Regions from separate parts of the Homo sapiens genome. Here all the other regions are linked to region 1. Evidence: promoter capture Hi-C in 16 types of primary human blood cells and fetal thymus (Javierre and others, 2016). All regions are on one chromosome and are shown on one strand. Each heading gives the region's core, a stretch centred on a gene start or on the middle of the fragment in contact. The rest is flanking DNA. Distances are from core to core; before and after follow the strand shown.

Region 1 (4,355 bases), core at 801-3,300:
CCAAACTGCTGGGATCACAGGTGTGAGGCACTGCACATGGCCAATTATTATTATGATTATTATGAGCCACTGCACCTGGCCAATTATTATTATTATTATTGGGTTTTTTTGAGACAGAGTCTCGCCCTGTTGCCCAGGCTGGAGTGCAGTGGCAAGATCTCGGCTTCAAATGATTCTCCTGCCTCAGCCTTCCAAGTAGCTGGGATTACAGACATGTGTCACCACGTCCGGCTAAGTTTTAGTAGAGACAAGGTTTCACCATGTTGGCCAGGCTGGTCTCGAACTCCTGACCTCAAGTGATCCACCTGCCTTGGCCTTCCAGAGTGCTAGGATTACAGGCACGAGTCCATGCCCGGCCCAATTTTTATTATTTTTAAAGGAACTAATTAATGGACATCTTAAGATTTTCCCAGTTTAAATCTTCGATATGGTAAATATCATAAATATAAATAAACAAAGCTCTTTGAGGTAAGAGCATACAGGGGTCCCAAGGCTTAAAAGGTTTGAGGACTGATGTTCTATAGCAACATTACATTGACCTTTCCAGAAGGCAAAATGGTAAAGCACATTTTATAGTACCTCTAAAGTACAAAGGGAAAAGATATATTTTAAGCATATGACAGAATGTTCAATTAAAAACATTTTCTCCACACTACATTCAGTGAATATAAAAAGAATGTGGATTCCCCAGGAACAAATTCCCGAGAAGTGAGGGACAGTGCTGTAATTAGAAAAATGATCTGGACTCTAGCCCAGACCCTACCAGTCTCTCTAGACTTTAGTCTTCCCATCTGCAAAGTGAGATATCAGAATAGCCTATTTTCCATTTGCTTCCAATTGTCAATACCATGACTCTAATCAGGGATCCCTAAATGGGGGCCCACAAGCTGTCTCTGGCCTTCAGAGTGACTGGCCAACCCTGTTTTTGAGAAGTACCCCAAGAGGACAATCAGCTGGTGCTTGGTGAGCAGCTTTCCTTTCAGGTGAGGAATTGATTTTCAGTTACAGCCTCAATCCGGCTCACTAGACTCTCCTCTGCAGACATCTGCATTTACAACCTCTGGAATAAAGGGACCCTCAAAACCGGTCCAAATCTCAAGCTCCATAATTCAGCTCCAGAGACAGGGTGTCTGGGTTTCTCACTCACTCTGCTACATGCTGGTTGTTTGACTTTGGGCAAGTTCCTTAACACCTCTGAGCCTCAGTTTCATCATCTGTAAAATGGAACAACGCTGAACTCAAAAGGCTGGTATGAAGCTTAGCGAGGTGTTGCCCAAGAGTACTTACAGAGTTCTTGGTACTGGAAAGCACTTTGTTAAAGGGAGCTATTATTATTAACGCCAAGGCACAGAAAGGGAGTATTTCCTAAACTCCCTTCACCCCCCACACCAATTCCCTTTCCCAGCACCTGACGATTGCACTCCCACGATCAAGCTTGTTTTCATATCAACTCCCAAATCCGACAGTTCCACATCCCAACATTCACAAGACCCTCCTCAGACCTCTACTTCTCCTTCCCCACCCTACATCCCTTCACTGAGCTCCCGGCCAGTACCGGTTTCCTTCACGACCACAGCCGAGCAGAATGGTCACAGCACTGACCACTCCCCCAGGCTCTCCTCCGCGTTCCAGACCACTAAGCCTCCCTATCCCTCATTTCGGAGACCCCCTTGGGTCAGGAAGTGGTGGTCCAGGGGTTCATGGCCTAGGATTCTGCCCAAAGCGCGGTCGGGAGGGATGGGAGAATAACAGCCCGACCTCCCGGAGGGGCCCACAGACACTCACCGTCCATCCCTAGAGGCGGCGGTTCCGGGAGCTCGAACCGGAAGCGGCCTCTACACTGTTTGCAGTTCCCCTGGTTACTGCGGGGCCCCGGACCAATGACGGTGGAGCTCCACTTACTGAGCCCGCCCCCGGGGAGTGACGTCATGCCGGCGCGCTGGAACTCCTCCTCCGAACCCTGGGTCTGACCCACCTCCCCGGGCCCCGGATCGTTGTGCGCAGGCGCGATGGACCAAGGCCCTTGGCGGTGCGTTGCGCATGCGCCCCGGGCGCCGCCGACTGAAGTAGCAATGGACGCGCTGGAGTCGTTGTTGGACGAAGTCGCTCTGGAGGGGCTCGATGGCCTGTGTCTGCCAGCGCTGTGGAGCCGGCTGGAGACGCGAGTGCCGCCCTTCCCGCTGCCTTTGGAACCCTGCACGCAGGAGTTTCTCTGGCGGGCCCTCGCCACGCACCCGGGCATCAGCTTCTATGAGGAGCCTCGGGAGCGACCCGACCTACAGCTCCAGGACCGGTCAGCGGGCGGCCTGGCCTGGCGGGCGGGCGGGCGGGCGCAGGGCCCGGGGGCTGATGGAGCTGGGGGCAGGGCGGGGGAATGGAGTGGGGCTGTGCAAGTACCGGAGGCCTGTTGATTGAGTTGGGGCACGGCGGTAAGGCTAATCTGGGGTCCCTCAGGCCTGGCAGGGCCCTGGAGTCCGATGGAGTTGGCGGGGGGAGGGGGAGAATCTAGTGATGTCCCGTTTTGTCCCTGTGTGTGTTTTGGGGTAATGGCGAACAGGATTGGGGATATTCTTCAGGCTTAAAAGAATGTTTCCTTTACATTGGAGGATAGGATTAGAGCAGGAAAGACACTTTAGAGCCAGACTGGAGACTCCTGAGATCAACAGACCCTCATGGTATATTCATTCGGTGCAGATAGCCTAGGGCAACTCGAGATCTGCGTATCAGGACAATTAGCGATAATGCTAAAAGCTGACATTTATCAGGGACTTCATGGGTGAGGTGCTGTTCTTTTTTTTCTTTTTTGAGATAGAGTCTCTCTCTGTGGCCCAGGCTGGAGTGCAGTGGCGCGATCTTGGCTCACTGCAACCTCCGTCCGCCTCCCAGGTTCAAGCGATTCTCGTGCCTCAGCCTCCTGAGTAACTGGGATTACAGGCATGTTCCACCACGCCCGGCTAATTTTTGCATTTTTAGTAGGTATGGGGTGTCATCATGTTGGCCAGGCTGGTCGCGAACTCCTGACCTCAGACAATCCGCACCTCTCGGCCTCCCAAAGTGCTGTGATTACAGGCGTGAGCCACGGCGCCCGGCCACATTGCTGTTCTAAGAATCTATTCTAGAAGCTTTAGGAGCTTAAACTCACTTGATCCTCACTTGATTAAACTCCGTTAAACAGGAGATTAAATTCACTTGATCCTCACCTATGAGGTAGGTGCTGTTATCGTCCTCATTTTACAGAGGAAGACACTGAGTCACAGAGAGGGATTATGTAACCTAAGGTTCTGGGGGCAATAAGTGACTAAGAATTGATTTGAACCCAGGCTATTTTCAGCGTCTGTGCTCTTAAGCCATATTGTGAGGGTCAGGGGAGGTTCCAAGAGGTAATAATGTCCAAGACAGGCCGGGTGCAGCAGCTCATGCCTGCAATCCCAGTACTTTGGGAGGCTGAGGTGGATGGGTCACAAGGTCGGCAGTTCAAGACCCGCCTGACCAACGTGGTGAAACCCTATCTCTACTAAAAATACAAAAATTAGCCTGGCGTGGTGGCGCATGCCTGTATCCCAGCTACTCAGGAGGCTGAGGCAGGAGAATCACTTGAACCTGGGAGACAGAGGTTTCAGTGAGCTGAGATTCAGCCATTGCACTCCAGCCTGGGTGACAGAGTGAGACTCTGTCTCAAAAATAAAATAAAATAATGTTCGAGACAAAACTTAAAGGTTGGATTTAGGCAGCCAGTTGGCAAAGAGGACTGTTGGACAGAGAACAGCAAATGTGAAGTAAGTGGCTGAAGTGTGGAATTGGAGGTAGGGAATGAGGAATAGCTAGGACTGTGCTAAGATCCTTAATACAACATGTTATTTAATTTTTACAGAAACCTTAGGAGATGGGTAATATTCTCCCCATTTTCCTGAAGAGAAAATCGAGGCCCTGAGGGGTCAAGTGGCATGCTAAAAGTCAACTAGCAAGGGAAGAACCCAGACTTTGAGGAAGGTCTGAGTTCAGATTCCAGCCAAATTGGACTGGAATCAAGTCTTTTAACCTACTTAAAGAGTTTATCAGCCTGTAATCCCAGCACTTTGAGAGGCAGAGGTGGGCGGATAACTTGAGGTCAGGAGTTCAAGACCAGTCCAGCCAACATGGTGAAACCCCATGTCTACTAAAAATACAAAAATTAGCTGGGCGTGGTGGTAGACGCCTGAAATCCCAGCTAGGTGGAGGCTGCAGTGAGCCGAGATTGTGCCACTGCACTCCAGCCTGGGTGACAGAGGGAGAATCCATCTCAAAAAAAAAGCTTATCCTTTATCAAAAGGACAGTGAGAAGTCACTGAAGAGAGGGTCAGACTAGGGGCAAAGAG
Region 2 (4,355 bases), core at 1,209-3,708, 3.9 Mb before region 1:
GGGAGCACAGAGGGTGAACAAGGACAGACACTCAAGCCTTTCTTCTGCCCCAAGCCCTAGCAGACCCCAACCTCACAGCCTCTTACCAGCACAGTGGATGTCCCCACAGCTCTCAGGTTCCATGGCTAAGTTCCCCAGGGCACGGGCCGTTCGGTTCTGGATGCTGTCTGTCTTCATGCACTGAAGAATGGTCACTGCAACGACAGTTTGGGCTTGTGAGGGTTCTACCCCTTACTGTCTCTCACATCAATAACCTGGAGAATGTGGCCTGAGAGGGCCTGGAAGGCTTTCAGAAGAGGCTAATGGTCGGCAGGGCACCGTGGCTCAAGCCTGTAATCCTAGCACTTTGGGGGACCAAGGTGGGTGGGTCACTTGAGGTCAGGAGTTCAAGACCAGCCTGGCCAACGGGGCCAAACCCCATCTCTACTAAAAATACAAAAATTATCTGGGCATGGTGGTACACGCCTGTAATCCCAGCTACCCGGGAGGCTGTGGCAGGAGAATTGCTTGAACCCAGGAGGCAGAGGTTGCAGTAAGCTGAGATCGTGTCACTGCACTCCAGCCTGGATGACAGAGCAAGACTCCATCTCAAAAAAATAAAAAGAAAGAGGCTAACACTCGGGCTGGGTCTGGAGGGGTACACAGGAAGGTATTTGCCAGAAGCACGGTGGATGGGGGTGTGAGAAGGCATTTCAGGTTTGGAAGCAGCCTTTCCAAAGGCCCAGAGGTAAGATACAGTGTCTGTGAAAGGCTTCAAATGTCAGGCCAAGGGGTCAGGACTTGAATGTGAAGGCACTGGGGGCCACACAAGGGTTTTATGAAGGGGAGTGACACGATACAATCTGACATCCATAGGGAGAATGCATTATGGGGAAAGAATAGGAAGGGGGGAGTCAAAAGGCTGTCATAATAGTCCAAGCATGAAAAGACAATAGCTTGAACCAACCCAGCTACTGGCATCACACAGCACAGAGATACCAGTCTCTGGGCACACAATGGAAGTAGGAAGAGAGAGAAGCAGATAAATTCAGAAGATATTTAAGATGAAAAATAGTAGCTGAATGATGGGGGTTATTTAATAACCAAAGCTCTTGTCAAACATATATGGTCCAGATACATTTTATGTAAATTTTAAATATATTAATGCTTCCCTTTATCCGAAAAGTTAAGATGTCATCAAAACTAGCATAATTTCGTGGAAGGCAGGTAGTGACATGTAAACTGCTTTCACACATTGCCACTAGGAGGCACCAATTTAGCTGGTAAACAGAAAAGCTTATGTTTTGCTAGGATTTGTTCTTACTGTGCTGGTTTTAATTATTTTTATTTATTTTTTCCTGCTTCCTAAGCGACTACTGATTTGTTTGGTTTTCTAAGATACGAGGTCTTGTTACGTTGCCCAGGCTGGAATGCAGTGGCTATTCACAGGCAGTCATTGTTCACTGCAGCCTCAACCTCCTAGGCTCAAGGGATCCTCCCGCCTCAGCCTCCCAAATAGCTGGAACTACAGGCGCGTACCACTGCACCCAGCTTATGCTAGTTTTTAATAACTTGAAATACGTATCATGCTTAGAATATTTGCATATTCGTGCCATATTTGTACTTCGTTTTCTCCCCACTCTGATTTTTTTAGGTAGCTATTATTGCCCCATTTTACAAGGAATCCTAGCCTCGGAGGGGTTAGGTGACTTTTGCAGATCTCCCTTTCTGAACCACTACACCTTCCAGCTCATCAGTGGGGCTTCAGAACCTTGCACAGGGCCGGACACATAGTTGGGCACTGAATGTCTGCTATGAACATCATAACTGGACGGTAAGAATCATCTGAAAAAATCACCAAATAACTCTTTGGCCTCCGCTAGTCCAGCTTCGAAAGAAGTCCTCAACAACCAATTCCTAGATAATGGCTACAATTATCTGGTCTGGGAGGGCTCTCTCTCATCTATAGAGAGTGCAGTGACGTCACGGGGCACAACAGATTGAGAAACAGGAGCGATGCGCCATCACAAAGCACGTTATTCCGGGATAGGACACAAAGAACTCCAGACTGCCCGGGTCTAGAGAGCAAGGGAGTTGCAAACCTAATCTTTCTAGGAAACGGGGGCGGAGCACTTACCCAAAGGGAGTATGCCTCCGAGTCTGCGCACTTCGGTCCGGCACGCCCCTTCCGTACAGCAATCGGCTAGGATGCTGAGCGCCAAGTCCAGCGTCTTGCGCAGGCGCACTGGCGGCGTAGGACTAGACGACGACACAGCGGAGGGGGCGGGGCCCGACGCGGGGGCGGGGCTAGAAGCTCCCGACGCGGCCGACGAGGGGGCGGAGCCGGGGCCTGCCTGGGACGGGGCGGAACCCGCTGCAGCCGCTCGCCGTAGCAGCGCGAGTAGGGGGCGGAGCCCGCCGCGTGCCCGGAAGCGCTCGATTCCCCCCGCTGCCTTGATGTGGCGCGTGCGGAGGGCTAGGAGCGCGCGGCTCAGGGGTGTCTCGTTGGTCGCTGGGTCCTTTTCCCCACCCAGAGCCTCCCCGGCCGCCGCCGCGAGCTGCGCGAGGCAGAACGAGAGCGAGTCCGTGAGGGTTGGCTTCGCAGCCGCCATCTTGGCTCGGGCCTCAGACTCCGCCCCGCTTCTCGCCGCTGATCCCAGGGAGCGGAACTGGAAGACAGGGAAATCGTCGGGCACCGCCTCGCTGACGCTGTTTAGCGCCACCGCAGTGATGCAAGTCGGAAGTTGTAGTTCTCGACCCCGGAAGTCTGTCCTTGCACACGAGGCGCGGCAGTACCTTAATCGCAGCGCATCCTGGGACGTGCGGGCGGTGCATGAGGGAGATGTGGTCCGCGTCGAGCTTCTCACGCCTACCTCGGGAAGCGCTGGAAACTCTTCCAGGGCCCTCCAGGTGGGCCAGGGCCTCCGAACAGCCCAGAAGTCCGACCACGGAGCCTTCGTGCCGTGCCCCGCCCCCGGCGTGCACTCGGCGGGGACCGCCTTTTCTCCTCTAGGCTCGCTTCGCTGCCCCCCAGCGGTGGTGCGGCCCGGCCTTGGGACGGACTCCGAGAACCCCGAGCCGGGCCGAAAGTGCGGGGTCCTGACCGCGCCGCAGACGGGGAGCCCTCGCTCGGTCAGAGGAAGAAGAGGGTTAAACCTACCGAGAACGTTCGCTGCCGCTTCCTAGAGTGACGGGCTTGTGGAATTTTCCGTTTCCGGAGCTGGACCCCGGTGTCCCGAGTGTCCTCCGCTCTGGACGTGCTCGTGAGCTCAGGAGCTGGCATCTAGGAAACGGGGAGTTCTTCACTCGCAGCGCAGTCGGCCGCGCCAGAAGAGGCGAGGGAGAATCCGGACGGGGCGGGGCGGCGGGGGAGCGGGACATTCGCGTCCCGGGGAGCCCCCAGGTCACCCCTGGATTGCGAGGTGGCTCCGCCTGAGCAGCCCTTCCTGGTGTGGTCGGGGCAGCTGCCCGCCCGGAAAATGGTCAGGCTCTAGCCCTGGGGAGGAAGAAGCCTTTGCCAAGAGCAACCGTCTACAAGCCCCAAAACCTGCGAGTGCCGGAAATGTGGACTGACCACAGCCTGCCTCCCCGGCTTCATTCACCACCAAGGCAGCCCCTCTGGTGACAAGCCTTACCGTTGTCCGGGTTATGGCAGAAGCTTCCGATGTGGCTCTGATCTGGTTAAGCACCACTGGGTACACACCGGTGAAAAGCCGTACTCCTGCCCCGAGTGTGACCATCGCTTCGGCCCTATGCCTGTGCCTAGTGTGGTAAGACTTTCAGCGTCAGCTCCAACCTGATCCAGCACCAGCGCGCTCACACCGCTAAAAGCCTTACCGCTGAGGGGACTGCGGCAAGAGTCTCAGCCTTGGCTCCACCCTGTTGCAGCACCTGCGCTCCACATGGGTGAGAAGGCCTCTAAGTGCCTTGTTTGTAGTAAGAGTTTTGTGCACAGTTGGAATCTGCTGCGGCACCAGCACAGTCACAAAGTCCGGAAACCTGATGCTTGGTGGTGAGTGTGGCCAGACCTTCGGCCACAGCTCCCACCTGCCCATCCACTAGGCGGCCCACAGCAGCACCCCTGCGTCTGCCTGCAGTGTGGCAGGGCCCTAGCGCAAAGCTCCAACCTGGGCCAGCACCAGCGGACGCACTAGGGCGGCAGCCTCTGCAAATAGCCCTGGCTTCAATTTTAGCTGAAACTTCAGCTCTGACTTTGGTTCGGACTTCAAGGAAATGGAAGGAACCAGGATCTCTAAGCAGACCCCCTTCTGCTCCCTTAGGGCTGTTGATTTTAGAGCTAATGATGGGATTCGGTTGGGGCGAGGGGGTCTCCACATCTTTTTGCCCAACCCTTTGCTAAGTCAAGGAACCCCAGT
Region 3 (4,355 bases), core at 1,133-3,632, 3.0 Mb after region 1:
TTCTACATGACAAGATTTACTCTACCTAAACTACAGGCTGGAGGTGGGGGACCTCCCATTTCAACTAAAAGAATCCATGTCACACCTTAAGTGTGATAAAAATTTAGTGACTAAAAAAATACCCTAACCTAATTGTAACTTCACTTCTTCTCATTCCATCAGTAACTTTTAGAACACCGAACTGCTAAAAAATACACATCAGCATTACTGATCTGAGAAAAAGAAACCAAAACAAGTTCAGAGTCAGGAAAGACTGCTTGTCACATTTATCTACTGTTAAGTTCCCAATATTATCAAAATACTTTTGAAAAGGAGAAAGAATCTAACGATTCTTATCAGTGGCTTATTTGTACTCTATGGTAGCAGCCTATTTTTCAGTACCTTAGTATCAACAGTCACGTAAAATCTAGCAACTACTACTTTAAAAAAAATCAGTACTTTTGATCTTCACCGAATTGATAAAGCTTAAGAGTAATGTGATGAACTAACAGTTTAACTACTTAATTGCCGTATTACTAATTCTGGAATTGACACACAAGACAAGAGCGGTGACATCAGAACATTTCAAGATCCAAAAACAATTCCAATACTGATTAAATCCTCAAAAATATTAAAGTTCAGATCCCTTATCCACAACACAGGCAAGCAACTCCAAATAAATAAATGCGAGGAGGGAGGAAGGCAGGACATAAAATTTGCCATCAAACTCCACAATGTTGTTAGGTTAGAAAATTGTTTTTTTGGTTTTTTTTTTGTTTTTTTTTTTGCTGATTGAACAAACAAGCTTTGCACAGGCTCTCCTGCCCTCCTGATGGAAAATAAGTTAGAAAACGCCCTAAGACAAGCACTCAAAGAGTCTAGATAGCTATCCCCCTCTCCTCCCTCCCTCATTTTAAAAAACAGCGAGAAGAATAATCAGGCTTCCACGTTTTGGGTTAGCCTGTTACAGATGACCCAAGTATGCAGAAATAAAATAAACCAGTGAAACTCCAAGGCCAACTGCTGCAAACCTTGGCTATCAATGAAAGTTGTATCCAAAGTACTAGAACGAACAGTCCCCACTAGAGACATAATGGCGGTTAGCTTCCTGCCAGGCACCTTCTAGCTAGTATCTCTCTCCAGCCACCAAATATCTTAAGACCAAGCGGCCCTTACCTTCTTTCGTCTGCGCATTGGTGATCTGCAGGTCGCAGTCGGCAGCTTTCAGCTTCTCTCTCCCCATAATCTGCTTCTTTAAGTCGCAGAGGGAGATGTGGAGCCCATCAAAGGTGACGGTATCATAGTTGAGTTTAGAGGAAAATTTATAATGCACACAGGACATGGTGCCAAGGGATTCCTAAGGTTCAGCGAGGAGACGTGGACACTCTCAATATACGTATATTTATAAACTTTAAGAGCAAAATATGTACACACAAAACACTCAAAGACACCGAAGGACCCTAAGGCCTCAGATTAAATACCCCCCAACCACAAGCAGGGGTTCGTCAGAACAATAATCCAGAGACCCCCCGATACTCAGAATCACTTCATGGGGGAGGAGGAGGACGAGGACGGGGAAGAGGGGAAATCGAGAATCCGCCAACGGGCACAATGTCACCCGGCTGGGTCCCCCTCGCTCATGCTAAGGGGCCGGCAGAGACGGGGGGATTGGCGGTGCAGTCAGTAGCGGTCAGTCCACACGTTAAGAGTCCGAGCGACCCCACGGGGTCAGGGGTCCATAGCGCGGCCGCACCTCCCGGCGGGTCTCTCTCTCCGTGGATTGGGGTGACCCAGGCCCCGGGAGAAGGTTGAGGGGAGAGGGCCTAGGCCCGGAGTCCACGAGCGGCCTCACGCCTCCTCCTGGCTTCCGGACGACCGGCGTCAGCTTCCCCAGGCCCAGGCCCAGGCCCCCACCGCACACAAACCCCTGGCGCCTGCTCCCCGGAGGCCACGAGCGGCCCCACGGCCTAGGCCGAAAACGCGCGGTCGGCGGAGGAGAGGCCTTCCCGCAGGCCGCCCCCGGCTCCGCCTCCCCCCGCCGCCGCCGCCGCCTCGGACACAAAGCCGGCGCTAGGCCTCGGCGAGGCCTCGGAGCACTTCCTCACCACCCCGGGCCCCAGCCGGCGGCCGGGTGGCTTCGGCGGACCCCGGGGACACCGCCGAGGCTCCCTGACGCTTCTTCTCGCCGGATCCTCCGCGCTTCGCTCGCCTTTCGTTTCCGTCGCCTTGAGGCCCGGAACCGCGAGAACACGCCCGCAAGCTGCTGGGCAGCGGCTAGGGCTTCTCCGGCTCCCTTTTTGTGTTGGCCCCCTGCCGCTCGGGGGCTCTCACCGAGCGGCGGCGACACCTCCAAGCCAGGTACTATGGCGGACGCGGCCTGGCTTCGGACGAGCGCCCCACTGCGGGGTCTCTTAAGCAGGGATTGCACGGGCGGCGCGCGCGAGGCGGGGCTGGCGTGCGCGGATAGGCGGGCCGAGAGGCGGGGCGGCTGACGTCACAAAGCGCACGGCCCGCCCACGTGACCCCGCGCTTTGTGACTCCAAAGCGCGGAAACTGAAAGAGCAGGGACAACGGGAAGAACCATCTGCTTCAAAAGGGAGGGGGGTTGCGCGTCAGGAGGACCGGCTCACAGGGAGGCTCGGTGGGGAGAGCTCGCCTTGCAGGGGCTGCGTGCAGTTTCCACTGCAAAGTGGCTTGCCTAGGGGTGGCCGGCTAACTCCCCCTTCCCCACAGGCCCCGTCAGCTCCTCTAAGCCTCCCAATTTAAGTGAGCATTATGGTTGCTACGCAGAAAACTATGGTTGCTATGCAAGCGCTCCCTAGCTGCTGCTTCCAATAAACTGGCTACCCTATACTCTTGACAAGTGGAAATCGTGGAGCAGCCGCTGCCAAGAACTGATAACAGCCACCAGCACCATACAGATTTATTGAGCTCTTACTATGTGCTAGGCACAGGGCTGATCGCATAACAACATTGCCAGGCTCAGCAGCCACGTTGTCTGGGTTGGATCCCTGGCTGTGGGGGCTCTAGATTTAACCCCTCTGTGCCTGGGTCTCCTTGGCTGTAAAATGCCATTAAAAATAGTACTTGGTTTACTTGGATTAAATAAATGCACATAAATCCATAGTCTAAGACCATGCCGGTGCATTGACGTGGCTCAATGCACCGAAATATTAATAGCTGTAGCTCAATAAATGTCAATTTAACAACAAAAACCCTACGTGGTCAACATGACATTATTTCCGATTTATAGATGATGGAACTGAAGCTAGCAATCATGTACTTTCTGAATTTGCAGAAGGGGATGCCTGCTCAGTGGCAGGGTCCCGATTCCATTCCTAAGCGCAAATGCCAGGAACAGTGACAAGAACCCCCTCAGTAGATTGGAATTTTTTTTTTCCTTTGGGCATGGGGACGTTATTACATTCAGAAAAAATCATAATATAATAAAATTACATTCATAAACGATAGTTATTATCGTTTACAATCCATGTTCCTCATCCTCTCTGAATTTTACAGGCTAGGCTCAGTGAATTTAGGCAACTGAGAATAAGATCCTATAGCCGAGAAGTAGCAGAGTTTCCCAGGGACTTCCTGCAAGCACACTCCAAATTCTTACTGAACTTGATTTAAAATTAATCACCATCCTGCCAGAAAAGCCTTCCTAAGGCCATCTTTTTAAAATAAGATGGCGATCTTTCTCTATCCCTTTAGTCTTTTCTTCCTAGCACTTGCAGATAGTTGACAGTTACACATTTACTTTTTAATTATCTATCTCCCCCAACCCCTACCTTCGGCTGACAATAGGAATCTTATCTTTATATTTGTTTTTGCTGTATCCTCAGCTCTTAGAACATAGTAGGTGCTCAATAAATACGTGCTGAATAACTGGATACATTTTTACGTGATCCATAGAGATGTCGTGGCAATAAAATTTTGGCCGTAGTCAAGGGCAGCTCTAGAGATACCATTACAATTTAACTCAACCACACACATCAGTACTTTTCATATATAACAAGTTTCTTCCACTTTTACCTCTTTGTTATTTCACCAAAAACTTATTGCTGCCAGGTCCTCTTCAGGTTGGTTGCTTTTTTCTTAAAAGCCTCTGTGTGAATGAAAGGGCGAGGGCTATCTCTAGTGAAAGAAAAACTCGACGAGAAAATTGCAAGCCGTCATGGAATTCACTCCGAAGCGGTGAATCTGTTCCTTTTGCCCGTCTGTGGCCGACCCCTTTATATACTGAATGCCTAATTTAATCAGCGTGGTGCATCATGGGATCTCAAAGTGGGCCACACCCTCAGGATATGACAGAGTGGATCATAACCTAATCTGCAGGGGGGGATGTCCTTGGAAAGAATGTTGTCTATTGGTCC

What was found. Contacts are between HindIII fragments. The CHiCAGO score rates a contact against its expected background, and 5 or more counts as called.
Region 2: a fragment that was not itself captured here is called in contact with the fragment with the promoter of GTF3C1 in region 1 in 1 of 17 cell types (fetal thymus); the score reaches 13.6 in fetal thymus.
Region 3: a contact is called between the fragment with the promoter of RBBP6 here and the fragment with the promoter of GTF3C1 in region 1, in 1 of 17 cell types (naive CD4 T cells). The highest score is 5.2, in naive CD4 T cells.

Annotation. Positions count from the first base shown.
Region 1 is chr16:27,547,608-27,551,962 of GRCh38, reverse strand. It overlaps GTF3C1 (general transcription factor IIIC subunit 1), which reads left to right and starts at 2,050. Exons shown (of 37, transcript NM_001520.4): 1 at 2,050-2,293. The coding sequence starts at 2,073. It overlaps KATNIP (katanin interacting protein), which reads right to left and starts at 1,819. Exons shown (of 28, transcript NM_015202.5): 1 at 1,786-1,819. The coding sequence starts at 1,792. RefSeq lists enhancers at 1,954-2,063, 2,074-2,153. The HindIII fragment of the contact is 1,688 bases long and covers 1,437-3,124 here.
Region 2 is chr16:31,457,761-31,462,115 of GRCh38, reverse strand. It overlaps ARMC5 (armadillo repeat containing 5), which reads right to left and starts at 2,615. Exons shown (of 6, transcript NM_001105247.2): 1 at 2,117-2,615; 2 at 87-194. The coding sequence starts at 2,591. RefSeq lists a silencer at 2,067-2,416 and enhancers at 2,607-2,946, 2,945-3,485, 4,133-4,355. The HindIII fragment of the contact is 2,362 bases long and covers 1,278-3,639 here.
Region 3 is chr16:24,537,593-24,541,947 of GRCh38, reverse strand. RBBP6 (RB binding protein 6, ubiquitin ligase) reads right to left here and starts at 2,382. Exons shown (of 18, transcript NM_006910.5): 1 at 1,156-2,382. The coding sequence starts at 1,321. RefSeq lists enhancers at 732-1,724, 1,725-2,719, 4,146-4,355 and silencers at 1,936-2,115, 2,386-2,435. The HindIII fragment of the contact is 3,955 bases long and covers 787-4,355 here.